Regions from separate parts of the Homo sapiens genome. Here all the other regions are linked to region 1. The links are contacts of gene promoters, found by promoter capture Hi-C in blood cells and fetal thymus (Javierre and others, 2016). All regions are on one chromosome and are shown on one strand. Each heading gives the region's core, a stretch centred on a gene start or on the middle of the fragment in contact. The rest is flanking DNA. Distances are from core to core; before and after follow the strand shown. Region 1 holds the start of LINC00955 (long intergenic non-protein coding RNA 955). Region 2 has its middle 14 kb from the start of ADRA2C. Region 3 holds the start of LOC124900651 (a long non-coding RNA gene). Region 4 has its middle 39 kb from the start of ADRA2C.

Region 1 (6,892 bases), core at 1,541-4,040:
AGACCAGCCTGGCCAAGATAGTGAAACCCCGTCTCTACTAAAAATACACAAAAAAATTTAGCCAGGTTTGGCGGAGGGTGCCTGTAATCCCAGCTACTCGGGAGGCTGAGGCAGAGAATTGCTTGAACCAAGGAGGCAGAGGTTGCAGTGAGCCGAGATCGTGCCACTGCACTCCAGCCTTGGTGACAGAGCAAGACTCCATCTCAGAAAAAAAAACAAAACAAAAAACAAAAAACAAAAAAAAAAAACAAAAAAAAACCACCTGTCGGTACAATGCACAGTGCCTGGGTGATGAAATAATCTGTACACCAAGACCCCGTGACACGCGGTTTACCCGTGTAACAGACCTGCACGTGTATACCTAGAACCTCAAATAGAAGTTGGAAGGAAAAAAAAAGAAACAACAAACAAAAATAATCTGAGACTCCCTGAAGGATGAGAACGGGCTGAGCGGGGCCACAGGAGCCCGCACCGGGTCCGCGGAAGGAACTCACACTCCTGCTTCAAGGTGTGGAAGGCGACCCAAGAGGCGGTACACAGACCGCGAGGGAGCGTGCTGTGAGAAGCTCAGGGAGACAGGGCCTGGGAGGCCAGGTGAGGTGTGGGCACAGCCAGGGAGAAACACTGGTGACCCGAGACGCACGGGAACTCGCAGTCACTTGACCAAGTAGCGGCCACGTTTGCGCCACACTTCCATAAACGTGACCAGTAAGGAAGCGACAAGCCTGAAGGGTCCTGACCATTTATTACTCAGGGTACAGCATGTCCTTATCCCTCTGCCTTGTCCCCCACATCTCAGGGGGCAAACAGAGCAGGTTTGTGTCAGCCGAGGAAACCCTTGATCTTCTAAGGGGACTGCTAGCCATCTCGCCCCCATCTTTGCCACAGAAAAGACGGTATCCTTTTGCCCTGGAAGATAAACCAACGTCTCGGGGAGAGGAGGGGCCGCAGGTTTATTTCCCAGAAATGTGTGCAAATCTGCAGACACAGCAGGGAGGTTTTGCTCTCCTGCATGCCTCCAGCGGGCTCTGGCTTGCAAGAATGTCTCATGCAGGCATTCTTCCAGTGCCCTGTGCTTTGAAAAATACGCAGAAAAGCCAGAATTATGGAGGGCAGCCTCCTGGGCTTGTGGGTGTTGGGCAGGTGGAGGGAGACGTATGGAATCTTCTGGTCTCCAGGCAGCTGTGCAGTGCACCGGTCGGTGGGATCAGTCAAGGAGGTTCAGAGCAGGATGGAGGAACCGCTCCAGGGATTTCCAGCAGAGAGGGGTTTGTTGCAGGGAAGGAGATGGATCCTGGGACCCTGGAGTTCGCACCCCTGCTCTGTCTGCTGCAGTGCTCCGGGGGTACACAGCCCAGCCCAGGGTCGCCCCGGTCATGTGCCCCCAGCACCAGCCCCTGGGCCTTTTATATGTTTCTGGGATGCTGCCTGTCTTCCAGTGCCATCAGGAAAGGCTCGGGGAGCTGGGCCTCACTGGACGCCATACCCCTCCCGCTGGAACAGTGCGTAGGTGTTCCGCCCTCCAGGGCAGACTGACCGCAGGATGAACGCCCCCGCCCCACAGGTGCCCAGCGCTTCACAGCTCACAGAGCCCTTCGACCTCCCTGGCCTGGGATGACCCTCTCAACACCCCCAGGAGGAGACACCGGTGCTGCCTTCAGCAGGGAAACCTGGGCTTGGATAGGTGCAGCGGCTCCTCCAAGGTGGCCAAGCTGCCTGGCCCTCGCTCATGAATTCTGAGTAGCCCCTCCTGTCACTGCCACCCACTGCTCTCCCCGGAGGCCTGTGTGTCCTTTGTTCTCTCCTGAGGATGGCTGTGGCCTCCTCCTGTTCCTGACAGGGCCCGGTGCCCACTGGCTCATGTCAGAGTTCAGGCCTGAGGGGAGGGGTGTTTGTGCTAACAGGAGGCAGAGGGCAGCCTGCCAGTCTGGCCCTGTGGCCACCTGAGCTGTCCCCTGGGACCCGTGGCTTCATGACTCTGACCCAGTGGATGCTGTCTTCATAGTCTGAGTGGGAGCCAGGTTTGACCTTGGAGTGCCTGGGGCATAGAGTCCCTGTCCTCTGGAGGAAGAGATGGTCATCCCTTTTCATGCTGACTGGCCCCAGGGCAGGACCTGCTCTTTTGGACCCTAAAAGGGACAAGGCCTGGTGGCAGAGCAGAGCTGGGGCTCAGGAGAGGGAGACGGGTGGGAGGAAGGGAGGAAGAGGAAGAGAAGGAGGAAAGGGGGAGATGAGGAAGGGGGAGGAAGAGGAGGAGGAGGAGAAGGAAGAGGAGGAGGAGGAGATGACTCAGGCACCCACGGCATTACTGTGGCAGGCTGGCCCTCGGTTTCCCCAGCAGTAAATGAAGAGATGGGGTCAAGGGGCCCAGGCCCCCTTCCAGATCTGAGACCTGCGCATCAGGCTGTCTGTATTCAGAGGAAGCCGGGGATGGCAGCTCCCAGCCGTGGGCTCGGCCTTCATTCACTGTACAGGCTCATCCATTCACCCAGTGAACCCTCCCGAGTCCCTTCATGAGGGCGGCCTCGCAGGGACTTTGGTCTCGGCTCTGCCCTGTCCTGGCCTTGGGACCCTGGGTGAGCTGAGGCAACCCAGTTTCCTGGTCTGTGACTCCAGGCTCTGTCCTCGCCCCATCGCCCCCCATCGTGGCACAGGTTCGAGGGTGTTGGCTTGCCTGGCCTCCTGAGGGCCTTCTGGGGTTAAAGTCTTCTATCCTGAGGCTGAGACCAGGGCTGGGGAGGAGGTTCAGCCCCTGTGGACTTTATCCTCCCTCTCCACGGCTGAGTCTTGATTTACAGCTGGAAGGGCAGACGGAGGCATCTTGGTGTATACACAGCCCTGCTGGGCCACATCCCGGGTCTCCTCCCTCTGCGATGCCATAGCAGGGGCGCCTTCCGAAAGCCCTCTGGATTGAGGCAGCAGGATCTATGGTGGAACCTGCCCCGGCGTCGCCAACGCCCCTAGGACCCCAGCACACTGACTGGGGAGCATCCCTGTGTCGTTTCTGCCCGGAGAGGAGCAGAGGCCAGGCTGCTGCTCTGGGAGGTGAGTGTCATGCCTGGGAACACAGCGGGGACCCCAGGGAGGGAGAGCAGGTGTTTGCTCCCTGGGCTCTGCCTGGTGGTCCTGACAGCAGTCCTGACTGTTGCGAAGGCTGTTTTTTGGTGGCTTCCTTAGGGTCCTCGCTGTGCTCTCGGTCCCAGCACTGTCTGCTCTCCTTCCTGGTTATTTGAATGACCCGGCTCCTGTTGCTGTATCCCGGGTCCTGACCTCCCCTGAGATGGACTCTGTTCAGGCTAGACTGCCTCAAGGGACCCGCTTCAGTCTATTTGTGGCAGAAAAGGTTAGCTGGCTCCTGGGAAATGTCAGGGGATAAGTCAAAGCTGGCCAGCGGCAAGGCCCAGTGACGCCCTGTCATTTTATGACTCCCTTTTCTTAATCAGTCGAGGAGAAAAACAAGCAATGAAGGATTTTCCATGGCAACCACCAGCAGGGCAGTGTTCTCTCCCTACCTGAGCTTGTTTTAAGAAGAGGGGTCTGGCCAGAGGCTGCTGACCCTGGCCCCAGAGGGCAGGGGTCGAGTGTCCTGGAGTGTGACTCCCAGGCACCTGGGCTTGGGCTGGGCCCCTGGAGCAGGCGCAGCTAATCTGGCCAATCTACTCCTTCACACTCATGGAGCAAATGGGGAAACAACCCAGAGAGGGGCAGCCCAAGGAAGCAAATTTGTAGAGCCTGACACTCTGAGAGAGCTCTCAGAAGGATACTAGTCTTCTAAACCAGAAACTTATTCATATAATAATAATAATGTTTATAATAATAACATTATTAATTCCTTCACCATCCACCCACTTACTCACCCTCTTACCCATCTGTCCATTCAACTCATCCACCCCCACATCCAGCCAGCTTCCATCCTATCATACATTCATCCACCTACCCGTCCACCCTTTCATCCTTCCTTTCTTTCATCACCCACCCATCCTCTCACTCATTCATTCATCCATCCACCCATCCATCCATCTACCCATTCATCCACCCATTCATTTATTCACTCTCCCATCCACCCATCCATTCACCCTTTCTTTCTTTCATCATCCATCTATCCACCCATCCATCCATTCATCCACATATTCGTCCACCCATTCATTATTCACTTATCTATCCATCCTTCCAACCATCCATCCATTCATCCACCTATTCTATTCACCCACCCATCCTTTCATGCTTTCTTTCTTTCATCATCCATCCATCCATCCATCCATCCATCCATCCATCCATCCGTCCATCCATCCATCCACCTATTCCATTCACCCACCTATCCATTCATTCACTCACTCATCCATCCATCCACCCATCCGTCCTCCCTTTCTTTCATCACCCACCCATCCATTCACTCACCCATCATCCATCCACCCAGCTAGCCAGCTTCCATGTCTATATCCAACTACTCACTCATCCATTCACCCATCAACCTAACTAAACTTGTTTTCTCCCATGTAACACAATACTTATCCACCCATCCATCCGTCAACCTACCCAACCACCCCATAACACGCCCACATCCTTCCCTTTGCCCATCTGTACACATACTTATCTACCTCTCCTATACCCATATACCCATGACATCCACTCACCCATTCATGCATGATCCTCCTACACATTCACTCACTTACCCATTGACTGCTTCACCTACTTATCCACTACTCCCCATTCACCCATACCCTCATAAAACTTCTATCCATCCATTCTATCCACCTACTCAAACAACCACCTATCAACCCATCTACCCATCAGACTGTGGTCCACCCACCTATCCATCCACCCATCTACCCATCTACCCAAAGACCCATCATCCATCCTCTATCCACCCATCTATCCATCCATCCATCCATCCATCCATCCATCCATCCATCCATCCAAACACCACACATCACTCGTATGACTTTAGAAGCTTTGTCCACAGATTCCAACTCAGCTTTGAGATTTGGATCATCCAAATTTGCTTCCTGGGCTGCCCCTCTGGTCTGTTTCCCCATCTGCTCCACGAGTGTGAAGGAGTAGATCAGCCAGATTAGCTGCGCCTGCTTCAGGACTCCAGCCAAGTTTGGGTGTCTGGGAGCCACACTCCAGGTCTCACCAGGAAGACTATGCCAATCATGGAGAAGTCTGATAAATGCAAAACCCATTTGAACCCCCTGGGTGGGGTTTATAGATGTGCATGAAAGGAACAGGATCAAGTTCTATATGGGGTCGAGGGCTCAAAACCAAACTCTAAGATCTGGAGTCCCTGTAACAATACATAAATAGGTTTCTGCAACTCCCGTCTGTGTGGTAGATGAAAATACCATCAGTACACTGACTGATAATGCTAGTATTTTCTAACCTCCAATTACCTAGATAATGCTGCTCAAATCTCTTAGTTGTTTCCTCAGTGAAAAAAAAAAATGTTTAAACCCAAGGGAATATTTAGAATTAGGTACAGAAATGTTTTATGGTATCAACTTCCAGTATTCATAGTTTTGAGTGAAGGAATCTGGGCGTGTTTGGTATTATAAGCATTTGTGATGTTTAAGAGATTTGGGGTTATTAGAAGGGACAGTTTGGCCTTTTAATTAACATTTGAAATATACACTGAATTACTTGATTTAGACTTATGACTATCAGTTGAAATCATAAAGTTTATATAAAATGTTGGAACATTTAAGAGAATCTAAGTTTCATCATATTAGGAAGTTATGTTTTTAAATTTAAAAGAACTAGTTAATTTGGGAATATTTGTCAGGCAAGATCTAATATATTAAGTTTGTTGATGTAATTAAGTTTTTGAAGGTGTTTTATTAAGTAGTAGGAACTACTGCTAATGAAATAACTTTTAGAAAGAGTTTTGAGATTTCTTAAACTTATAATGATAAGATTTGTAGATTCGGCTCAATAGTTTAAGGGAGAAAAACATACGTTTCTGATTTTGTATCATCAGTACATACAAATTTTAATTTTTTAAAACCCAAAGTAATTTCTGAATAATCTATCATATGTGCAAAAAAAGCCTTTGAGGACATAAAATAAATATCACATTAGCACCATGCCGACTTATTCTCCCATCCATCCATCCAACCACTCACTTATTTACCCTTTACTCTCCCTTCTCTCTATCCTCCTATCCACCTGTCCTTTAACACTCCCACCTACCCACCCATTTATTCATCCATCCATCCATCCATCCATCCATCCATCCATCCATTTCCATCCTCCATCCATCCAACCATCCGTCCGTCCGTTCATCCATCCGTCCATCCATCCATCCATCCATCCATCACCCACCCACCTTTCCATTCATCATTCATCCACCCATTTCCATCCTCCAATCATCCATCCATCCATCCATCCATCCATCCATCCATTTCCATCCTCCATCCATCCATCCATCTGTCCGTCCATCCATCCATCCATCCATCCATCACCCCCCCACCCACCTATCCATTCATCATTCATCCACCCATTTCCATCCTCCAATCATCTATCCATCCATCCATTTATCTACTTGTCCATTCACCCATTCACCTATCTACCTAGGAAATATTTATTAAAGGACCTAGTAGGCAGCAGACACTAGAAAAAAAGTACCTACACCTAAAGGGGAGCTGCTTCTGGACCCACAGACTTTTCTGACTTCTCAGTGTTGGGAGAGACTAGCTCTGTCCCTCTGCTCTGTCATTTTTCCTTGACTTTGCCATCTCGCCCCCTACAGTGATCTGGTGATCATGAGCACAGTGGTTAGCATGTGGGCTATGGTACCAATGGCCTGGGTTGAAATCCCACCTCTACTATTTGCTCGCTGGATGACATTGGTCCACGGAGACAAAGGAGCACCGACCTCATAGGCTCCTGGTGA
Region 2 (6,769 bases), core at 1,493-3,992, 180 kb after region 1:
CTTTCCTTTTTCAAAATTAAAAACAATTTAATTGCGGTCAAATACACAGAACATAACATTTACCATCTAAACCAGTTCCGGAGTGTTCAGTACATCCACACTGTGTCCCACAGCCACCACCACCAAACCTCTCCAGGATGTTTTCAGTAAACCAGAAGATGTCCCCATTAAACAACTCCCGGGCCTCCCTGGCACCCACCCTTCTATTCTCTGTCTCTATGAATTTGACTGCTCTAGGAATCCCATGTAAGTGGAATTGGATAATGTTTGTCCTTCTGTGACTGGCTGATTTCGCTGAGCATGGTGTCCTCAAGGGTCATCCATGTTGTAGCCTGTGTCAGAATGTCCTTCCTCTTCAAGGCTGAATAATATTCTGTGGTATGGATGGACCACACTGTGTTTATCCATCACCTGATGACGGACATCTGGGTGGCTTCTGCCTTTCAGCTATTGCGTTGCAGTGGGAAAGCAGCCAGGGACAGCATTGTTCCTGAACAAACGTGTGCAGCTGCTTTACCAAACCAAGTGGCGGGCCCAGCAGTACCAGCGGCTTGGGGGTGGGAGATGCACCAGGACCAGGCAGAGGACCCAGAGGGTCTGATCCCCAAAGGCTGTGGCCCTGCATGTGTGCAGGAGGCAGGGAGATGCAAACAACAGACACAGGCTGTGCACTGCTGCCAGCTGCAGCAGCAGGGACAGAAGGGAAAAACCAAGATCTGCAAAGCCATCCGTGTCTCATGAAAAAGGGTGGCCCCTGGCCTTGCCTTTCTGGAGCAACATATGTAGACGTGGGTGCACACCCACACACGCCCCCACATGCAGGGCACGTGAATGAGTCCCCAAAGCTTCCAGAAGCACCAGCCGGGCAGTGCAGAATCAGACCAGGAGAATGAGAGGCTGCCCCCACTCCCCCAGCACCGTGTGCCACTGGGAAGAGCCTCCAGGGACGTTTCCGTGCTCCTGGGTAGCCCCGGGCTCTCCTTGTTCTTTCCAGCTGGAGCTGGCACTGGCTGAGCTCCTACTGTGTGCCAGGCCCTGGGCCAGGCACAGGACACACAGGCCCCTCCAGTTCCACCAGCAACCTGAGGAGGCGTTAGGTTGGGCCCAACCCAGACGGCCCACGAGGGCACAGGGAATTCAAGTGAGCTGCTGGAGGACCCACGGCCATCGAGCGGGGGAACCAAGACACAGAGCTGTCAGCTGCCAGCCCAGGGACCCCAGAGGTGGAAGGGCCATTTGCTGTGTCTCCTGGGCAGACCCTCTGGGCCTCATGTCCTGCTTGGCTCTCCTGAGCCTTCTCTTCCACACCACGGGACAGCAGTGACTGTCTCAAGGGGTCACAGCAAAGATTAATCAGATCATGTAGGTGAAGTTCCTGGGCGTGGTTTGCCCTCTAAAAGGTGGCTCTTGCTCCTGGGAGCCCCCACCATCCAGTCACAGCTGGAGCCAGGTCCGCCTAGCACCCCGGCCCTGCTAATTGAATAAATATTCATTCGTGTTGAGTACCCAAGTACCATGGTTTCCATGGCTACCCACTCCTAATGGCTTAATGAGACAAGGGCCCAGATTTTCCAAAACCCACATGAATGCCGGTCCCGATGGGAAGCGTGCCCATCCCATGGGGCGGGCCTTGCTCAGCTCCCTTTGGAAACATCAGAGACAGAGTGGCCTGTGGTCCAGGAGTGGGGATTCAACAAACAGCCGTCAGCCGTCAGCGTGTGTGGATGGGCAAGGTCTGTGAAACCCCAGCCCGAGGCCGGTGGAGTCGGAGAGCCTGGGCCCTGCATCACCCCGCACGCCACGCTGCCTCCCTTCCACCTGTTGGTTGGTTTCACTACATGCCAAGCGTGTCTCCCGTAGCAAACATGAGCCCAGAGCCCCGGCCCCTGCTGCCACGGCCCTGAGCCCTGCAGAGCCATGTCATGTGCGTGTGTGTGTGTGTGTGTGTGTGTGTGTGTGTGTCACCTGCCCCGCCCTGCCCACTAGGCACTGTTGAAAGGGGTCAGGGCCATGCACCATCTAGCCCTGTCCTGCCTTTCTATTTTACCCATCCTCGCTCCTCTTCCTCACTAGTCTCTGACTTTCTGTCCCCCTCCCAGCTGACACCAGAACGTGCCCCATGGACCTGATGCTCAGGGACTGTCTGGGGGGCCAGCAATGATGATCAGGGTCAGGGGCTGTAGGAAAGGTGGGTCCTGGCCGCCACCTTCGTCACCAGCAAGAGTAGATCTCAGGCAGTCACAGCCGGTGGGACATGCCCACGTGTCTGCCCCCCTCTGGTGAAGAAGCAGTCACAGGACCATGCCCTCAGCTTCCAAACCTCCCGAGTCCCACTTGAGTGCTCCTGGTTGGCAGAACCCAGCAAGAGGCGATGGCGCCCGGGCAGTGCAGGGGAGAGCAGAGGAGAAGCTGCACTGAGTGGCCCGTGGTCCATCTGGCCATGGCCCAGGGCGGCCCTGCACCTGCAGACATAAGGCCTCGGGCAGCCACTCTGGACACAGAGGTGGGAGCAGGAGGGTCGTGCCACACACATTTGTTCATGAATGATCCTGTCCCTTTGCAGCTTTCTCAGGAACCCCAAGAGCAGGTGAGATGCCTGGCCAGGGAGCTTAGCACAGCCGTGGGCTGGCCTGCAGGCAGCCAGCTGCCGTGCCAGTCACCAAGGCGGGGCGGTCAATGGAAATGCTCCACTAAGTCAGGCACAGATGTGGGGAGATAGCACCTGCGACCTTGGACTCCCCATAGGTGGCCCGGAGTGCTGGCCTTCCTCATGCACACTCCACTGTTTATATTTAAACAGCATGAGGTTCCCACCCAGGGAAGCAGCCTGGTCACTTGGGAAGAGTCCTCCACCAGAGAATGCTCCCTGGCAGGACTGATAATGAAATTGAAGCAACGACTGAATGCCGCCACAGCAGCCTCGGGATGTGAGCTGGGGTTGGGCAGCTGGGGCTTCCCTCCTTTCTGGGAGCTGGCCCCGCTTGAGCCTGCAGAGCAGGTCTGCTGGGGACCGGAGGTGGATGGCAGGCCGGCTCAGTTCCCACAGTAAGGGTGTGCGGCAGGAACACAGCCGGGCGCCTGGTGTCTCCAAGAACCCTGCGAGGGGCCTGCACCACTCTCCACTCGGGGTGGGTTCTGCAGGGTCCTGGAAGACGGTGGTAGGTTGTGTAGAGCAAGGGAGAAGGGACCCCATAGGGAAGTCGGCAATGGTGAGGGCCGGCACCACGCCAGGGCCTAGGGGAACCCAGCAGTGCTGGAGGCCTCCCAAGAGGGTGGCAGCCCTGCCTGAGCCTGGCCTGGCAGGGAGGGCTCTGGGGAGACCGTACCCCACCTCTGTCCCACACCTCGAATCTCAGCCAGGGGAACAGTTGGGAAAAAGAGGCCCAGGTAGAGAGATCAGGAGCAAGGTAAGCCAGGCTACCCTGTCCCTGTCCCCTCCCACCAGGCCGGTCACCTCATGCCCCAGCCCAGGGCCCCTCCACCTCTGTCCCCTGGAACCCTGAGGCTCGGCACACCCTGCAGTTTGACCTGGGGGACTCCTGCAGGTTTTACACCCCCTCCCTTGGCACCTTTGGCTGCATCTGCCGGCTGAGGAGAGAGGAGGTTGACCTGGCCACTCTCAGCCCAGAACCTGCCTGAGAGCAAGCAGGACTGAGGATGCCCACTCTCCCCACCTCCGCACCCACCTGCCAGCCATTCCTGAGGATCCCACCCCGGGCTGGTCCCAGGTCCCTCCCCTGAGTAGCCCCGGAGGGCACAAGAGGCAGCCAAAGAATGAGTCCACGTCCCCTCATCCCCATGCTGGGGCCTTGGCAGCCCTCAGGCGTCCTGAGGAGCCCAGGGGGGATCTAACCCTTCCAGGGGTGCAGGAGGGCTTCCTGGAGGAGATGGCTGGGCTGTTCTTGGCGGCTAAAGAAGAGCAGGCCAAGACGGTCAGGGTGGGACAGGCATTCTGTGCTGAGGCACCCTTGTGGGAGGGCACTGGGGGGGCACGGGGACAGAGCAGAGCCTGGTCTCCTGGAGTGGCACCTGTGGGGCAGGAGGCATGAGGAGGGGCACAGGCTCCCAGCCACCCCTGGGGGCTCCTGGCTGGGCTGCACTCCTGCCCAAACAGCGAGGGAGATCCCTGGAAGGTCCCTCCTGGCGAGGCCCAACTGGCCTGGGCTCAGGCAGCTCCCCTGAGGCCGAATGCCCCATGGCCAGCCCCCCCGACACACTGGGGGAGTGCATGGGGCAGGGGCAGAATGGCACCTGAGGCATGCAGTTGTGGTCCCTCTGCCCCCCGAGGCCTGGCGCTTAGGGCTGGCTGGTGGGGGGCAGGGGACGTGGGGGCGGTGGAATTCCCCTCCTGGGCACTGGCGGGCCTTGCCGCCGGTGCTGTAAGTTTCCCAAAGACACCTGCACTTCACCTTCTCCCTTCCCTCCCAGCTACGAAGGCAGGGGCGGACCTCCAAGACCGCGGCAGGCGGGGGTCCTGTGACCTGGAACCAGGAAGGGTGCCTCCTCGGTCATGAAAAGGAGGAATGTGCCTCCTCGCAGGATTTGTATTTTATTTCCTGCAATTGAAACAATATCTGGTGTGAGGCATCTAATTACCGCTCTTTCCTAGAAATTGAGCGATAACACATCCTGTCGATACAAAGCTTTTGTTAGAGTCAAACACAGTTTCCCAGGGCAATTCCAATGAACACTGCACTCAAAAGTACTTTGGTTTTTAAATAGTTTCTCTAAGTATAATACCGAGCCTGATGCAATCTACTTCATCTTTTGTTCTGGCTCTATTTCGAAAGTACCTTTGTACTCCTGTGTTCCTGCATAACAATAGCTGATAGTTCCTGCTCACTTGAAGAAGATCCCACCCAATTAGAATTTTTAGAAGTGGGAGAGCCTTTAGAGAAATCAGAGCCAACCCACTCATTTGTCAGCAAGATAAACTGAGTCCTGGGGTGAGTCCCTCAGCGCGTCAGAAGGTTATAGAGCACCAGACTAAGGTAAGAGCCAGGAGGTCAGGGGCTGGGCAGAGGGAAGTAAGGAAAGGGATGCGGGAGGCTGGTAGCTGGCAGAGGAACAGGTGATGGTCGGCGTTCCAATTCCACTGTGCCTTGATGCCATCAGCACCCCAACCCTGACCCTAATCCTCACCCTACCTAACCCCATCAGCACCCAACCCTACTCCAACCCTAACCCAACCCCATCAACATCCCAACCCTAGCCCTGACCCCAACTCCAACCACCTTCCAACCAGAGAAAAGGCAAATACATCCCTGAAGGACGTCACACTTTGCAGAGAGCGCTCTCACGTCCTTTGTCGTGAGAAATAAAAATGAAATCCTAAGACCCCCAACAGACTGAGCAGAACACCCCTTGGCCAAAGGGACCCCAGAGAAACCTTGGAAGCTGAGTTCCCACCGTGATGTGAGGGAGGTGGGACCCACCTCGTTGTACCCCCTCCCTCCCTTGCTAACCATCACTGGGCTTCCCCTCTAAGGGCTGCAGAGAAACCGGATCTTCCGAAAGATTCCGCCCTGGTTTCAACCAACACCTGACCTGCCCCTCCCTGGTGCGAGTTTGACACAGCAACCAGCCAGCGTTCCTTCCTGATAGGAGACCACGGGCCACAGAGAGCTTCTGGCCAGTCGGCGGGGGATGTACAGCAAGGGTTTCCGTGTCCTCCGCTTCACCTTTCCACATCAGAGGGTGGAAAACTCCACCCTTAGGTCATGCTGCCATTGTCGTGTCTTGAACGTGGGTCCTATGGAGAGGCAGGAAGCTCAAGTGCACGCACGTGTTTCTCCTTTCATGTATATTCATGACTCCTTCCATAGCTTGTTGAATATGTACATTAGGCACCCCCTGCTCAGCAAAGGGAACCTTCCTGTTCCCTTTGCCCCTCCCTCAAAATGTCTGTTTGCAGCTTCTGGCCTGAGGCTACGCTTCTCAGCCATCAGAATGGCTGCTCTGCAGGCTGCAACCCTTTATGAGAAATAAGGCTCTCCTTTCCAAACTTACGAACCTTGTCATTCTTCAGTTGACAACCTTTTAGGCTCTAGGAGTCCATTTTGTTCACTGATGTATCCCTAGGTTTCAGACAGTGCCCAACACAGAGTGAGCACTTCATAAACATTTGTTGGATGAATGGAGAGTGAGCATGTCCATCAGTGGCGGCTGGGCCTGCATACTCGCCTATCAGCACGTGTCTGCGGAGCCTCCTTCTGTCTCCAGCAAATTCAATTAGTGGCTTAAAGCAATAGAAATTTATTCTCACAGCAATGGAAGCCGGAATTCTGAGGTCAAGGTGTTGGCAGCACTGTGCTCCCCATGAGGGCTCCAGGAGTTCTTTGGCTGTGACCCCATCTCTCCAGTCTCCCCCTCCATCTGCACATGGCCTCCCTCCCTGGGTGTCTCCTCTTCTAATAAGGACACCAGTCATAGTGGATTAGGATGGGCTCCAATCCAATAAGATCACATTCACATGTGCTAGGGGTTAGGACGTGGATATATCTTTTTGGGGGGACACAATTCATTCCATAACCATGGCTTTCTTTCTTTTTTTTAATTGTGTGCTATCAGAAAACCATTAGTATATTTCCCATGAAAATCCAGATCTCTGTCCCTCTTCCTGCATGAGAACTTGCAGGGTGGACTTGAGAGGTAGCTGTCTCCTTCTGATAGGGTATGTGCCACGGACCACCCTCCCAGCCCTCCTGTGACCTGGGTGCTGCAGCCCTGAAGTTGCAGGCCCTTGATCTGCCCAGTGGTTTGCAACTGG
Region 3 (7,031 bases), core at 3,452-5,951, 210 kb after region 1:
GGTGAGCCGCAAAGCCAGAGAAGCCCGCCTCAAAGTCAACGTGCTCCCTGGCTCCATTTACGTGACATTTTGTTGAATAGACTATTTTTTAAGCAGTTTTAGATCCATAGAAAAATTGAGCAGCAAGCACAGAGTCCCCTCTGTCCTCTTGGCATTATTTAACTTCTCCATCTGTAGATGTGGATATTGATGTGGACTTCACAGGGGCAGTGGGTGGCAGGAGATTCCTGGAGGTGGGTGTGGGCGTGCTTTGTAAACTGTAAAGTGCAGCACCCCAGTTAAAATTTATTCTCAGGCTCAGTAAGCCATGGGGTGGCTGCATAGCCACCGGGGCCTGCAGAGGGTGGGAGAGACTGGCTCCCAAGCCCAGCCCAGAGGTTCTGGAAAGGTAAGCCTGGTCACATTGCTCAGAGGTGAGGAGGAGGGACCCTCCAGCCCAACCTGGCCTCCTGCAAGGTTTGTCATTTGCGGGGATGACGGAAAACTACCAGCCTGTCTGCACAGCTCCAGCCAGAGCTCTTATCTCCCATCGGCTCGCCAGAGGCCTCGGCCCAGCCCCCAGCCGGCAGGAGGATGGGGCACCTCTGCTCCTGGAGAAGGAGAGGCCCTGTGGCTCCACCTGCCCTAAGGGCTGGCCCTGGACTCCTGCCAGGTCCCCACCCAGCCTGTGACATGCAATGCCAGGAGTCTAGAATGGCCTATCCCTGAGGGGGGTTCAGATCCTGGCTCTGTCCTGTCCCCCCTGTGTGACCTCAGCACATTCCTGCACCTCTCTTAACAAACCCTGCCAACAGCTGAGTTGCTTAGCACCTGCTATGTCGTGCAGCTTGGAGACCCTGCGCACCCTTTACCAGGACCCTGTCTCCCAAAGCTCGGTGAGGCGCCTGGTCATCCCCCAGGATGTGGGAGGCCGAGGCTGGGAGCAGAGGGCGGCCCGCACCTGCCACAGGGCTGATCTAGGCTGGGGCTGGGATTGGAATTCCATCCCCAGGTGCCCCCGACATGAGGTGAGCCGGGGACCAGCGTTCATGACGCAGTGGGAGCCCCTCCCAACAGGGCTGTGACTTCGCCGGGGATGGACCTTGCAGGGAGGCAGGCAGCTGCCCCACAAATCTGCCTCCCAGAGCCCTGAGCCGCCCACGGCTCTGGGTTGGGGTCTCAGCTGACATACAGTTACTGGAGTTTCTGTGGCTTCTCTGGACGTGGCCTGAGCCGGGCCAAGGGAGAGAACAGAAATGGAGGGACACATGTCTATGCCCTCAGCAGGCAGCACCACAGGACCCACACGAAACTCCTCCCCCTCATGAAACTCCTCCCCCATATGAAACTCCTCCCCCCACGAAACACCTCCGCCCGCAAGAAACTCCTCCCCTCACATGAAACTCCTCCCCTCACACGAAACTCCCTCCTCACATGAAACTCCTCCCCACACACGAAACTCCTCCTCCCACATGAAACTCTTCCGCCACATGAAACTCCTCCCCTCACATGAAACTCCTCCCCACCACACGAAACTCCTCCTCCCACACAAAACTCCTCCCCACGTCTTCCTCCCACACGAAACTCCTCCCCACACCAAACTCCTCCTCCCGCACGAAACTCCTCCCCTCACACCAAACTCCTCCCCTCACACGAAACTCCTCCCCTCATATGAAACTCCTCCCCCCACATGAAACCCCTCCCCTCACATGACACTCCTCCGCCCACCAAACTCCTCCCCCCCATGAAACTCCTCCCCTCGGGCCCCACGTGAGCCTGTAGCCAGCCCTCTGGGGGAACTGAGGCTTCAGTGGAAGGAAGGCCCTGAAAGCTTCTTCCAGGCTGGGGAAGGAGCACTAAGGGGAGGAAGATCACACTCCTCCAGCCACCGTGTTGAGACGCTGGGGCTGGGAGTCCCCTCTGCGTCCAGGTGTGTGGATGTCAGTGGTCAGTCTCCTTTCATTGGTGCCCACCTGCTTTCCTGCTTCTCATGAATGCCCACAAAGTGTTGGGATGACCACCAGCGGCTGCAGTATGATACCCCAGCTTGGCAGCCCCACGAAGAGGGGGTCCCAGGGCAGGTCCCACACGCTCCCAAAATTGCAGTGAAGCCACTCGGCCCCAGGGGCCTCCGGTGGGGACAGAGATGATTCTGCACAGGGACGTCAGACACTGCCGCCAGGCGGTCGTTCAGGTGGGAGGCGGCCCTGCAGGGGAGGTAAGACTGCTTTGCCCACCTCCTCCCTGAAGCCCCACTGGCCCCTGAGCAGCTGCAGGCTGGTGTCTCTTGGGCCTGCACTGATAGTTGCCTCCAGGTGTCCTGCCCTGCACGGCACTCCCTTGCCACACCCTGGGCTTCACAGCCTCGAGGGCAGGGGTCTGTGCCCCTGGAGCATGGAGCTCTCGGCTGCTGAGCCCCAGCCTGCCTCTGCGCCACCTTCAAACCTGGCTTGTATGGAGAAAGTTCTCCCTCTGGCCTCTGGCCTGGCTCCCTGGTGGCAGTGGTGTCCTCGGCTCAGGACTGCCCTGAGGGCCCTCTTCCAGCCCCGCCCCTGCTTGAGCGAGTGAGTGAGCAAGCCTTCCCCAGGTGGGCCCCTCCCTAGCTCCCAACCCTGACTTTTCCCCTGAGCCCAGGCTCTGCTGTGCTCTGTGCTAGGGCTGGATCTGCTGAAGCCGGGGCCAGAGGCCTGTGCTGCCCCCAACCTGGGAACCTCCAGACCACACTGATGCGACCGCTGCCTCCCAGTTCCCAGGAACAGATACTGAGCTCTGAGCAATGGGCACAATTTCAGACCCAGCGTCCTGGCGGTGCCATAAAACTGCAGCAGCGAAGCTCACTGGAGTCATTTTCTCCTGTGCTGCTGACACGGAGAGGAAAAATCCCCAAATAAAGCTCTTCCCACAGCCACAGCCACGAAAACATTGTCCCCTGCAACTGTGCTCGCTACTCAAACATGATTTCTCCTCCTCAGGGGGAAAAACCTCCCAGCAATTCTCATTGCAAGATGGTAAACCTGTCGCCCTAATGAACAGCTTTCATTTAGAACCCAGCGAGAAGGGGCGCACCGGGAGACGGCAGCTTTGTTGACTGCGATGTTTCCAAATCACTTGCTCAACCTGCAGCGTTCCCATGGAGCTTGGAGCGCCCAGCATAGGGCTTTATTGTTGTTTTGAGGCAAGAAAGAAGTTTTCAGAAGCCATACTTTGTGCTGATTCATGTTTCACCCTTGTGCCTACAAAGTCTCCCTCAAATGGGTATCCTGGTCCTCTTGCATGCCTCTGATGATGGGATGCTCACTACTTCCCAGTGCAGCCCCCCTTCATTGCAGGGGCTCATCACCAAGACTGCAGGGGAGGAGACTCAGAGCTCCCGTCTGTCCTGCTGTCTCCACCTATGAGTGTTTACTGAGCACCTGCTACATGCCAGGCCCTGTGCCAGGGCTGGGAGGGAGGAAGGGGCTTGCGGAGGGGCTGCCCTTTCAGGGGATGGAGCTCAGGGCTGGCTTGGCTGTGACAAGACCATGATGCAGGTTTGACACTCCTAAAGGAGAAAGGAATTGGGTGGGAGGAGCCTCAGTCACAGGTGGCAGCTGAGACAAAGGCCACCCATGCAGGGAGCTGGGACCAAGCTGGGACCCCCTGGGAAAAGCAGCCCTGGGGTGAGCCCCTCAGCCTCCAGCTTCCTCCGCACAGGTCCCCACGGCAGCCACAGTGAGGGTCCTCTGTCCTCCGTGGGGAGGGCCACGTACCCGGCATGATGGCAGCAGCTGGTGGTGCATGTCTAATATATGGCAGCTCAAGGGGATCAGCCTCTCAGCGGCCCCAGAGCAGCGCTCGGCGAGGGTGGGGACTGAAGCACCCCCATTTTATAGGAGAGGAGCAAGGCTTGGGGGTCGAGGGGACCTGTCCAGGTAGGATGTGAACACTGCTGCTTCACTAGCCTGTAAGACGCCCACGCACAGTCTGCAGCGCCTCCCAGCCCTGGGCGGTGAGAATCGGAACAACCCGAGCAAGCACAGCCCCGGGGCGGGGGTGAAGAGGGACCCCACCCAGCTGGCCCAAGGCAATGCCTCCTTACACCCGCCTAGAATAGGATCCTAAGCCTAGAATACACTGCGGGTGCAGCCTGCCCGCTGCATGAAGGATGGGCCCTGGCTTCCTAAGGCACGGACCTGGAGCACTTGATCCCGTGATGGATCAGGGGCTCCCGGACAGCTGCCCTGGGCTGACGGTTCCCGGGGTGGACAGCATCAGCCGGGGCTGGGCACACAAGGGGGAATTCAGTCCAGGAGGTTGGAGCGATGCGTGAGTGAAGAATGAATGAGTGAGGGAATGAATGATAGTTCAGGCGGTGGCCAGCAGTGCACCAGCTTCCCTCAGAGCTCCCTGCGCCCGGCCTGCCCATGCCCTCGCCTTCCTTTTCTCGTCTCTGCCTCTCCCACCCTTGTCACAGGCTGTCCCCTTCTCAGAGGCACTCGGAGTGCCCCTGAGTCTCCTCTCATTCCAGGAGGCTGAGCTGGACTCCCCGGAGCCTTGGGGTGGGGAGGGGCTTGGTGGGGGAGCTGGGGGCGGGGCCAGCCTTCCTTCTGGCTTGGATGCGCCCTTCCCAGTGACTCCATCACCTCATCAGCAAAGCCAGGGAGGCAGTGACACAGGTGCTGCTCCATGCGTGTGGGGGCTTGTCTCATCAGCTGGCACAGGCATGTGAGGACACGCAATAGGACAGGCCGGTCGGGTGAGGTGGGGTGAGTCTGGGACAGGCGATGGGGGCCCCTCGGGGCCTGAATGTTGGCCGACGGGCCCCTGGGACAGGTGCAGGGGGCAGTGCATCCTCTCCCCGCTCCCCAGTGCAGCCACAGAAACAGCAATAAAAGCCTTTTTGTTGCCTTTCCAGCCCAGACAAAATCAATAAATTCTGGAAACATGAGAACAGCTGACCTTTGAGATTTCTAGCAAACCTTCAAAGAGGAAATGTGGTTCGGGCTCCGGCTCAGAGCTCAGCACCAAGTCCAAGGCGCTGGGAACCTCCGCATAGGCCCAACTTGGGTCCTGCACTGTCACAGGGGTGAGACCCCAATCCTGCACGTGCTTCTCAGGCAGGCCTCACTCATGTGGATTCCAGAAAGTTCCGTGGATGGAACCTGCTCTTTCTGTGGTGAACGCCAGTATTGCTTTAGCTGTGTCTCAGCTGTTCCTTCTCCTCTAGAGAGTTCTCCAGCAGCTGCGAATTTGGAGCATGATCGGCTGGGGCGAGGACAGCACCACTTTGCAGATGGGGAAACTGAGGCCCTGAGTAGGCGGGATTTGGGGTTGATGCCAAGCTGCTTGGGCCTGATTCTCGGTTCACTGGGATTCACCCACCTGGGCCTTGGTGCAATTTCCAGAGGTTTGGTGGGGGAGCCGGGGGCGGGGCCAGCCCTGCTTCTGTCTTGGATATGAGCACCCCGGCAACTCTGTGGTCTCATCAGCAAAGCCAGGGAGGCAGCGACACTTGCGGGTCCCACTCGATGAGTGTGGGGTCCTGTCTCATCAGCCTGAGCAGGCATGTGAGGACCACTCCCCCAGCAGTAACCCAGGTCGCTGCAAGTGGCTATGGCATTCACTTTTGCCCAGGTGCCCAATTCAGTTATTTATTTATTTAGAGACAGGGTCTGTTTTTTTTGCCCAGGCTGGGGTGCAGTGGTACTATCAGGATTCACTGCAGCCTCAACCTTCCAGGCTCAAGCGACCCTCCTCCTACCTCAGCCTCCTGAGTAGCTGGGACCGTAGGCATGTGCAACCATGCGGGCTAATTTTTATATTTTTTTGGTAGAGATAGGGTTGCACCATGTTGCCCAGGCTGGTCTCCAGCCTCTGGGCTCCTGGAATCCTCCTGCTTCGGCCTCCCAAAGTACTGGGATGACAGTGCTGGGATTACAGGCATGAGCCATGCACCTGGCCATAATGTGGTTATGGATTGAGCTCCCACAAAGCGATGGTCATGCTCAGGGCTGAGGAGGGGCAGCCAGGGCCAGCCATGATCCCTGTGCTCTATGAATAGGACTCTATGGAGGGTGGGATGGAAGGGAAAGGGAAAAGACAGAGATGGAGACTGCCCCCCAACCCCAGGCTAATGACCGGACTCCTGCAGGAGGGGGTGGACTTGGGAGAAAGGCGAGGAGGCTTCTTGAGCTTTGAGTGTGAAGCTCGGAGAGAAGTCCAGCCCAGAGAGAATTTTGGGAGCCCTGAGCACAGATGGGGCCTCCTGCAGGTTGGTGTCATCTGCAGTGCCGAGAAATGCAATGCTGCTGTTCAGGCAGCCGCTCCCTTCCCCGGGAGAAGCAGAGGCCACGCAGACCCAGGCTGGCAGCCCAGGGCCACAAAGAGGGCTGGCGACGTGCTGGGCACAGAGCTGAGTGGCCACCTGCTGGTGCTGCCTGGACAGCCTTCTGCATTTTCACTGTGCCAGGCCTGGCTGCAGCCAAGGCTGCCAGCCAATCAGTGCTGGGGGCAAAGGTTCAGCTCTTCCATCTCACAACCACTCCCTGGCCTGTTTCCATCGCTGCAGTGCTGTGTGCCAGGTCCCTCCTGGAAAGTGGGTTTCTGAACATCCAAGCAGAGAGAGAAAGAGGAGGGTAGGCGGGGCTCCACAAGTAGGGCCCAAGCCTTTTTTGCACCATCCCTGCAGAGTGGGAGAGAGCTGCCTGCCCTCAGGAGAGAGCCCCAGGGAGGGAAGGAGCCTCCTGCAGCCTTGACCAAGCAAGCTGAGATGCCTGGAGGCCCAGCTGGCCTCCTCCCACCTGGAGCACATACGCACTGGAAGCAGCCTCCCCACAAACTCGCGGGAAATTGGGGGCTGGACCCAGAGGCAGGGGACCAGGCCAGCTTCACCCCAGGCCACTTTCTGCCTGGCTACACGCAAACCGATTGATGCTCAAGAGCAGCAAAAACCTCGTGTCTTTACCAACCAGCTTTTGCATGTTTTAATTAATGATGAACTTTATGTCTTAAGAAGGTTTAGGTTTACAGAAAAAGGAAAAAAAATGAGAAAATCATAGAGAGGGTTCCTATGT
Region 4 (7,332 bases), core at 1,123-3,622, 230 kb after region 1:
GCGGGCCAGAGTTAGCAGATAAAAATCCGGGGTACCCAGCTATACGTCAATTTCAAATAAACAATGTCTACATTTCTGGTATAAATACATCCCATGCAATATTAAGAAATACTTATTCTAAAGATTACTCATTGCCCATCTCATACTAAAGTTTAACTGGGCATCCCTTATTTTCTCTGGCAACCGTAGCAAGGGCAGCGGAGAAGGCTTTCTGTGAAGCCCCCCCACTTTGGAGAGCTGCTTAACATTCCCCAGCAGAGCGGAAGTGCCCCACATCCCCATGCTCCTCCCAGGCCCCAAGCTGACTGGCCTGTCAATGGAGCAGATGGTGGTGAAGAGCCCTCTCTCCCAGAGCCCTGGAGTCTGAGTCTGCCGCATGGTTCTTCCCATTTCTGTGTCATCTCTTAACCCTGGGGCACCCCAAGGAGGATGGGATGTGTTGTTCCTCTTATTCTTACTCTCCTTTTTTTGTAGATAAGGACACCAAAGCTCAGAGCAGGGGGGCGCCTCACCCAGCATCACCCTGCAGGGGCGGGCCGCGGGCACGCCCCAATGCTGAGGCCTCTGTGACGTGCTCCCTGGCCCCCCGAGCCTGGAGAAGCGTGAGTCTGCTGCATACTCCCTGACCCCTGGCTTTCTGGGGTCCCAGGAGCCCCAGGTGAAGGCCCCTCCCTGCCTGCTGTGAGGCTGGGCCTCTCTCCGAGTCACACCTGCCACTCCTTTGTGCTTCAACAATAAACAAGCCTCTGACGGGGGTGGTAGAACTCCACGGGAGAAGAACATATGAAAACAGCGGTAAAGGTGGCAAAGGACCCATGGCAGGCACTTAGTCTTACCAAATAGACGCCCACAGGCAGTAATAGAATAAGGGCCCCCTCTGCATTCCTCCCAGGCCTTTTCAAAGCAGCACCTTTGTCCTGGACTCTGGGGCAGGGGAGGCATGGACCACTGATGCCTTCTCTCCTAGACAGCTGTAGCCTGAAGCCATTTGCAAGCCACATTCTGTCTCACCCCTGACTTGTGAGCACCAACTGCATGCTCAGAACTTGGCCCACCCAGGATCTTTTAATCCAAGGCTGACCCCTGGGGGAGGGGCTGGAGAGGGCGTCACAGGTCCCAGTCCTTATCCTCAAAGCTTTGACCACTTCAAGTATGTCTTCTTGGTGTTTTTCTTTAATAACTCATTTGGTGACAAAACCTGGCCTGATGATTGATCTCTATTTCTTGGATGTTGTTTGGCTGCAGAGCAGTGGATTCATTTGAATGGGACGGTCTGGCCCAGCCCCCTATGGGTGTGGTGAAATACACAGAACAGGCACCACGTGGCTTTGTCAAGGCTGAATTCTGAAGCCCACTGGCTTCCGGGGCCTCTCGTAAGGGTCCTGGACTTGTGGCTGTCCCCACCCCCGCGTTGAGGAAGCTGAGCTGAACAGCAGCCACAGAGAGTCCTGTTAGCTTGGGAGGCTGGGGACACCGGGGACTGGACATGCCTGGTCTGGCGGGACAGTGGCAGCACTGGGTGGCAAGGGCTGATTCAGGGTGGGGGGCTCGGGGGTCTCCTCTGAGGGTCGGCCAAGGCTGGGAGGTGGAGCAGGACCAAGGGCTCAAGTCTGGGCTGGTCAGGATTCCTTTGATGAAGGGGTTGACCATGATTAGGATGAAAACAGGAGGAGGGCAGTGGCCCCCGGACTGAGGGTCCCCCCATGTTGGGGCTTCCTGTGGCCACACGGCAGATGCTCTAGAGACTCTGAACTGTTTCACGCACGCCCCGTCCCAGAGTGCAGCCTCCAGACAGCCAGCCCCGCCTCCCCTGCTCGAGGGCGGCCTTGTGCCGGAAAGCCCACAGCCCTGTGCGCACCGAGCAGGGTGTGCCCAGGACGTGGCCCTCCTCCCCCAGCCCCCCACCCGGCAGCCCGGACGATAGGAGCCCTGCAAATGCCCCAGCTCCCTCCCTGACCCCGTCAGGGCACTTGGGGATGGGCACTGCAGTCTCTCCAAAGTTGCTCTCTGTGAGACCAGTGCGTTCACCCAGGACCCCTCCCTTCGCTCAGAGGGGCCCCGTTCTGGGGGTTTATGCTTTTAGGTCTCCGCCTTGAAATTCCTAACGATTTTATCTTTGACTTTGTGTTTGTGAGTGACGTCCCATAGAGAGTTTGGAGCTTTGGTTCATGGGCGATCCCGCCTCCCACCCCTCCCGCACTCTCAGGTGGGCTCTCAGCTGCCCACTCTCCTGCCCCACCAGTGATTGCTGTCACCCTCCACCCCTGAGAGGGGCTGTGCAGGTGTGGGGAGGGTCTCGGGCTTGGTTGTTCACACCCTTTCGGGGGCTCCTGCCCGCCATGCCCTCCTGGGTTTCCTGGGAGCTCTCCCTGAAGTCACCCTTGTCTCAGGTCCGCTTCTGTGACTCCTGGCCTGAGACAGCCCCCACCTTGTACATCCCACTGCCAGGTGTGTGTCCCTGCAGACCCCTCACCAGAGATGCCTCCTCCTCTTCCTGTTTATCCAAATGCTCCTGACCCCCCTCCATCTCCCCTCATCCCCCGCCCCTCCACCAGCTGACTCCTGCTCACTCTTCCAGTCTCCACTGCAAACATCTCCTCCTGGAACCCTCTGAAACCTCTTCTGGTCTAATGTCCACCTCACACTTTTCCTGGCTGACAGTTCTCCTGGCCTCTGTGACGTGGGCCCTTCTCCTTGTTCGTGAGGAAACGCACTCCCTTGGTGCTGTGGAATGACTTGTGTCCCCACAAAAGCCTCATGTGGAAGTCCTGGCCCTCTGGACCTCAGAATAGGACTGTAGGCAGATATGGGGCCTTTAGAGAAGTAACTAAAGTGACTGGGCATGGTGGCTCACACCTGGAGTCCCAGCACTTTTGGAGGCCAAGGGTGGGGGCCACCCGAGGCCAGGAGTTAGAGATCAGCCTGGCCAACATGGTGAAACCCTATCTCTACTAAAAATACAAAAACTAGCTGGGTGTGGTGGTGGGTGCCTGTAATCCCAGCTACTGAGGAGGCTGAGGCAGGAGAATCTCTTGAACCTGGGAGGCGGAGGTTGCAGTGAGCTGAGATGGCACCATTGCTCTCCAGTCTGAGCAACAAGAGTGAAACTCTGTCTCAAAAAAAAAAAAAAAAAAAAGAAATTAAGGTAAAGTAAGGTCATGAGGGTGGCCCTAACCCCGTGTGACTGCAGACCTCATGAGAAGAGGTGATGGAGACACAGACAGGAACACCCCATGAGGTTGCAAGGAGAGAGTGGCCATCTCCAAGCCAAGGAGAGGCCTCGGGAGACACCAAGCCTTGACTCTTGAGCCTGGAGCCTTGGTGACATCCTGCAGTGGTTTAGATAGGGTTGGCTTGACCCTGCCAAGTCTCCTGTTGAAATGTGATCCCGATGTTGGAGGTGGGGCCTGGTGGGAGGTGTTTGGGTCACGGAGGCGGATCCCTCATGAATATCTTGGTGTCTTCCTCGCAGTCAGGAGTGAGTTCTCACTGTGTTAGCTCCTGTGAGAGCTGGCTGTTGGAAAGAGCCTGGCACCTCCCCACTCGCTGGCTTCTGTTTCACCATGTGAGGTCTGCACAGGTAGCTCCTCTCCCACTGCCGCCATTGGGGGAAGCTTCCTGAGGCCTCCCAGAAGCCGAGCAGATACTGGCTCCATGCTTCTTGTACAGTCTACAGAACTGGGAGCCAAATGAACCTGTTTTTTTTATCAATTACCCAATCTCAGGAGTCCTTTACAGCAACACAGGTGAACTATGACACACCTTGACCTTGGACTCCCAGCCTTCAAGACTGTGAGGTCATCAGTTTCTGTTGTTTAAGCCCCTGGTCTTCGCTAGTTTGTTATGGTGGCCCCAGGCAGATGGATCCGGTTGGCAACTGGGCCTGTCTGCCTGAGGCCTGTTGACAGCTCCTTCCCTGCGATGCCCCAGGACTGGTCATTGATAGCCTTTGCCAATGGCAGGAAATAAACAAGGAGAAGGATGCCCCTCCTGCAGGTTTCCCTGCGGCCCTCATCTCCTTGTCTGGTGGTTGGCCTTGACGAAGGCTGGCATTGGCAGTGCGTGCCCCTCTCCCTTCAAAACTTTCTCCTGCGTGGATCCAGGCTGGCTTCAGGGCCTTGCTTGGCCAGTGGAAAATGGCAGCAGTGACTTTCTGGGGCTCCGAGCTGGGTCAGAAGACGCTGAGCAGCCTCTGCCTGGGCATCTCGGAGTACTCACTCCCTCTTGGAGCCCTGCCGCCATCCCGGAGAACCCCAAGCCACATGGAGAGACCACGTGTGGGCCTGTCCTCAACAGCCCCAGTGCGGCCCTCAGCTGACTGCCAGCCTCAGCTACAGCATTGAGTGATGAGCCTGGAGGGCATCCCAGGGGAGCACCCATGTGAGAGCAGCCCTGGCAGACACCCCACTGCAGCCAGTGGTGAGACCCAAGTTACAGCCTCCCAGCAGAGCCTGGTCAACCCACAGAACTGGAAGACATAATGATACATTGTGGTTTTACACTAGTAAGCTTTTTTTTTTTTTGAGACAGAGTCTCACTCTTGTCGCCCAGGCTGGAGTACAGTGGTGTGATCTCGGCTCACTGCAAACTCTGCCACCCGGGTTCTAGCGATTCTCCTGCCTCAGCCTCCCAAGTAGCTGGGATTATAGGCACCTGCCACCATGCCTGGCTAATTTTTGTATTTCTAGTAGAGACGGGGTTTCACTATCTTGGCCATGCTGGTCTTGAACTCCTGACCTCATGATCCACCCAACTCGTCCTCCCAAAGTGCTGGCATTACAGGCGTGAGCCAGCACACACAGCCACATTTTTTTAATGCAAGAATAGATGCACAGAATACCGCGTGGTCCTGACTCTGGCCTCAGGGCCAATGAAACCCATTCCGCATGCCCCATGATAGTCCTCCAGAAATCTGCAGACAGTTCCTAGGTCCCCAGAGTCTGTTCTCTCAGTGAAACAGCTCTGATTCCTTCAGACATTTCTCTAAGGACCCAGTTTCAGACTGGCTTTCCAACCCCATCATTGCTAATAAGCCCACTCTAATCGGCCGAGGCACAGATTACCTAAAGGGACCCAGAACCAACCACAACGCTGCAAAGAATGGTATGATCAACCCCTAGTGCAGCTGAATGATCGCCTCCATTATTCTGGACACTTTGCTCCTATTAATGTAACTGAAGATTAAGTTTTCTTTCTAACCAACCTGACCCTGTCATCTGCTCAAATGAAGCTCGTATCAATTATGGTGTCTCCTTCCTTCCTTCTTTCCTTCTTTCCTTCCTTCCTTCCTTCCTTCCTCCCTCCCTTCCTTCCTCCTCCCTCCCTCCCTCCTCCCTCTCTCTCTCTCTCCCTCTCTCTCTCTTTCCCTCTTTCTTTCTTTTTGACAGAGTTTCGCTCTTGTTGCCCAGGCTGGTGTGTAGTGGCACGATCTCAGCTCGCTGCAACCTCTACCTCTTGAGTTCAAGCAATTCTCCTGCCTCAGCCTCCCGAGTAGCTGGGAATACAGGCGCCCCCACCACGCCCGGGTAAATTTTTTTTTATTTTTTTAGTAGAGACGGGGTTTAATCATTTTGGCCAGGCTGGTCTTGAACTCCTAACCTCAGGTGATCTGCCTGCTTTGGCCTTCCAAAGTGCTGGGATTACAGGCGTGAGCCACTGCGCCCCACTGGTTTCTTTTTAAACAAGCACTTTCCACGTTTTCCTTGGGAACACATATACAGGTTGCCAACAGAGAATTCCAGGATCCAATGCAAGGGGGTCACTGGGTGGCCCAGGGCAAAACATTTCCCTCTGGCAGCAGGGAGGTGCTAATGAGCGAGTGGGAAGATAACAGATTTATGCTTTCGAAAAATTTCCTCCAAATAAAACCTGCTGCAACCAGGGACCATGAAATTTGTCACACATAACATGATATATTTTTTAAACAATTCCAGGTTTTAAAAAATTCACTGATTTTCTGTCACCCACCTCAAAAATACAAAAGAAAAAAATACATATTTCATCATTTCTTAAAAATTCAAAATGATTTCTCTTCCAGTATTTGAATCAACACCCCCCAATTCAAATGTGGCGTTTCTGAGAACGTCTAATTCATTTAACTATTTTTCAACTCGGAGGAATGAATTGTCAGTCACACGCTATTTCGAGAACAAAAGGTTCTGTGGAAGACCCGTTCTGAGGAAGCTCTGAGCCCTGCAGGCAGGGACAAAACCCCTGGAAGCTGAGCTCAGGCACGAGGAGGGTCCTCTGCACTGGGCAACTAGCGCCGAGAGATTAGCCACTAATCAGATTGACCCCTCCAGGACCCGACATCTCCCCCACAGAGACCAACAAGTCTTCACAAATTTGAGAAAAACAAAAGAAGAATGTTTATCATAAAGATCTGGGCTCACCACCCCCTGGGATGGCTTCATTTCATTTTGAAATCACAAAACCTGCAGCTACTTAGGAGTAAAACAAAGAAAGGACATATTTCTTAAGGGGAAAAGCATGTAGGATTAATCTCAGAGCTTTAAGAGCCGAAGGTTCAGAGTGGATTTGAGTGGTTGCAGCATATGCCGTGTTCCGCGTGAGAAATACTGATGTGACTGCACAAGTAGCTTTCCTTGGCATTTTAATGTATTATATAAGCACATTTATATAAATGTTTTCCTGGGTTGGATAAATAGTGCTTTTCTATTTAAATTTAATCTGGGTCCTTGAGAATGAATTTCACTGATCTTTTTGTAACCCTGGAGATTTACCCTTGATGCAGATTTCAAACGTGAAATGGAATGTTGCTGAGTTCATTGGTTCTGGCACTCGCGGTGGTGTCTGGTATGGAGGAGACCCCCAGGAAGAAGAATGAGTGGGCAGGTGAATGTTGGAGGTGACAGATAGCCTAATTACCCTGATTTGATCATTACACTGTATACATGTATCAAAATATCACATGCACTCCCAAAATATGTACAACTCTTGTATTATATAGCAATAAAAAAATATCCCCCCAAATGATGGCAGGTTCATTCCACAGATGCTTACTCAGCGTATCTACGTGCCTATCTGTTCTAGGCATGAGGAATACAGCAGACAACCAAGGTGCCAAGACCCACACCCAGGAGCTTCCATTCCACTGGGAGAGAGTGACGATAAACCGGAAGCACTTGTGCCAGGTGGTGCTAAGAGTTAAGGAGGAAATGAATGTAGAGCTAGTGTGGTAGAGAGACCGTGGGGGTTTTTCGTTCTACATGTGGGGTCAGGGAAGGTCCCTTCCCCAGAAAGGGGCACTGGAGCAGACCCAGGAGAGCTTGGGCAGCACCTCCCCTCGGAGGCGGCAGCACCCGGGGCTGC

The links. Contacts are between HindIII fragments. The CHiCAGO score rates a contact against its expected background, and 5 or more counts as called.
Region 2: a fragment that was not itself captured here is called in contact with the fragment with the promoter of LINC00955 in region 1 in 1 of 17 cell types (endothelial precursors); the score reaches 5.5 in endothelial precursors.
Region 3: a fragment that was not itself captured here is called in contact with the fragment with the promoter of LINC00955 in region 1 in 1 of 17 cell types (endothelial precursors); the score reaches 5.2 in endothelial precursors.
Region 4: a contact is called between a fragment that was not itself captured here and the fragment with the promoter of LINC00955 in region 1, in 2 of 17 cell types (M0 macrophages and endothelial precursors). The highest score is 5.8, in M0 macrophages.

What each region holds. Positions count from the first base shown.
Region 1 is chr4:3,574,079-3,580,970 of GRCh38, forward strand. LINC00955 (long intergenic non-protein coding RNA 955) reads left to right here and starts at 2,791. Exons shown (of 3, transcript NR_040045.1): 1 at 2,791-3,045. The HindIII fragment of the contact is 6,504 bases long and covers 1-4,949 here.
Region 2 is chr4:3,749,490-3,756,258 of GRCh38, forward strand. No RefSeq gene overlaps it. Among named protein-coding and RNA genes, the nearest start is that of ADRA2C, 14 kb to the right of the region's middle. RefSeq lists enhancers at 1-217, 4,633-5,338, 4,847-6,046. The HindIII fragment of the contact is 3,798 bases long and covers 844-4,641 here.
Region 3 is chr4:3,779,985-3,787,015 of GRCh38, forward strand. LOC124900651 (a long non-coding RNA gene) reads left to right here and starts at 833. Exons shown (of 2, transcript XR_007057997.1): 1 at 833-1,007; 2 at 2,636-3,179. RefSeq lists an enhancer at 878-1,510. The HindIII fragment of the contact is 5,786 bases long and covers 1,809-7,031 here.
Region 4 is chr4:3,801,775-3,809,106 of GRCh38, forward strand. No RefSeq gene overlaps it. Among named protein-coding and RNA genes, the nearest start is that of ADRA2C, 39 kb to the left of the region's middle. The HindIII fragment of the contact is 2,479 bases long and covers 1,134-3,612 here.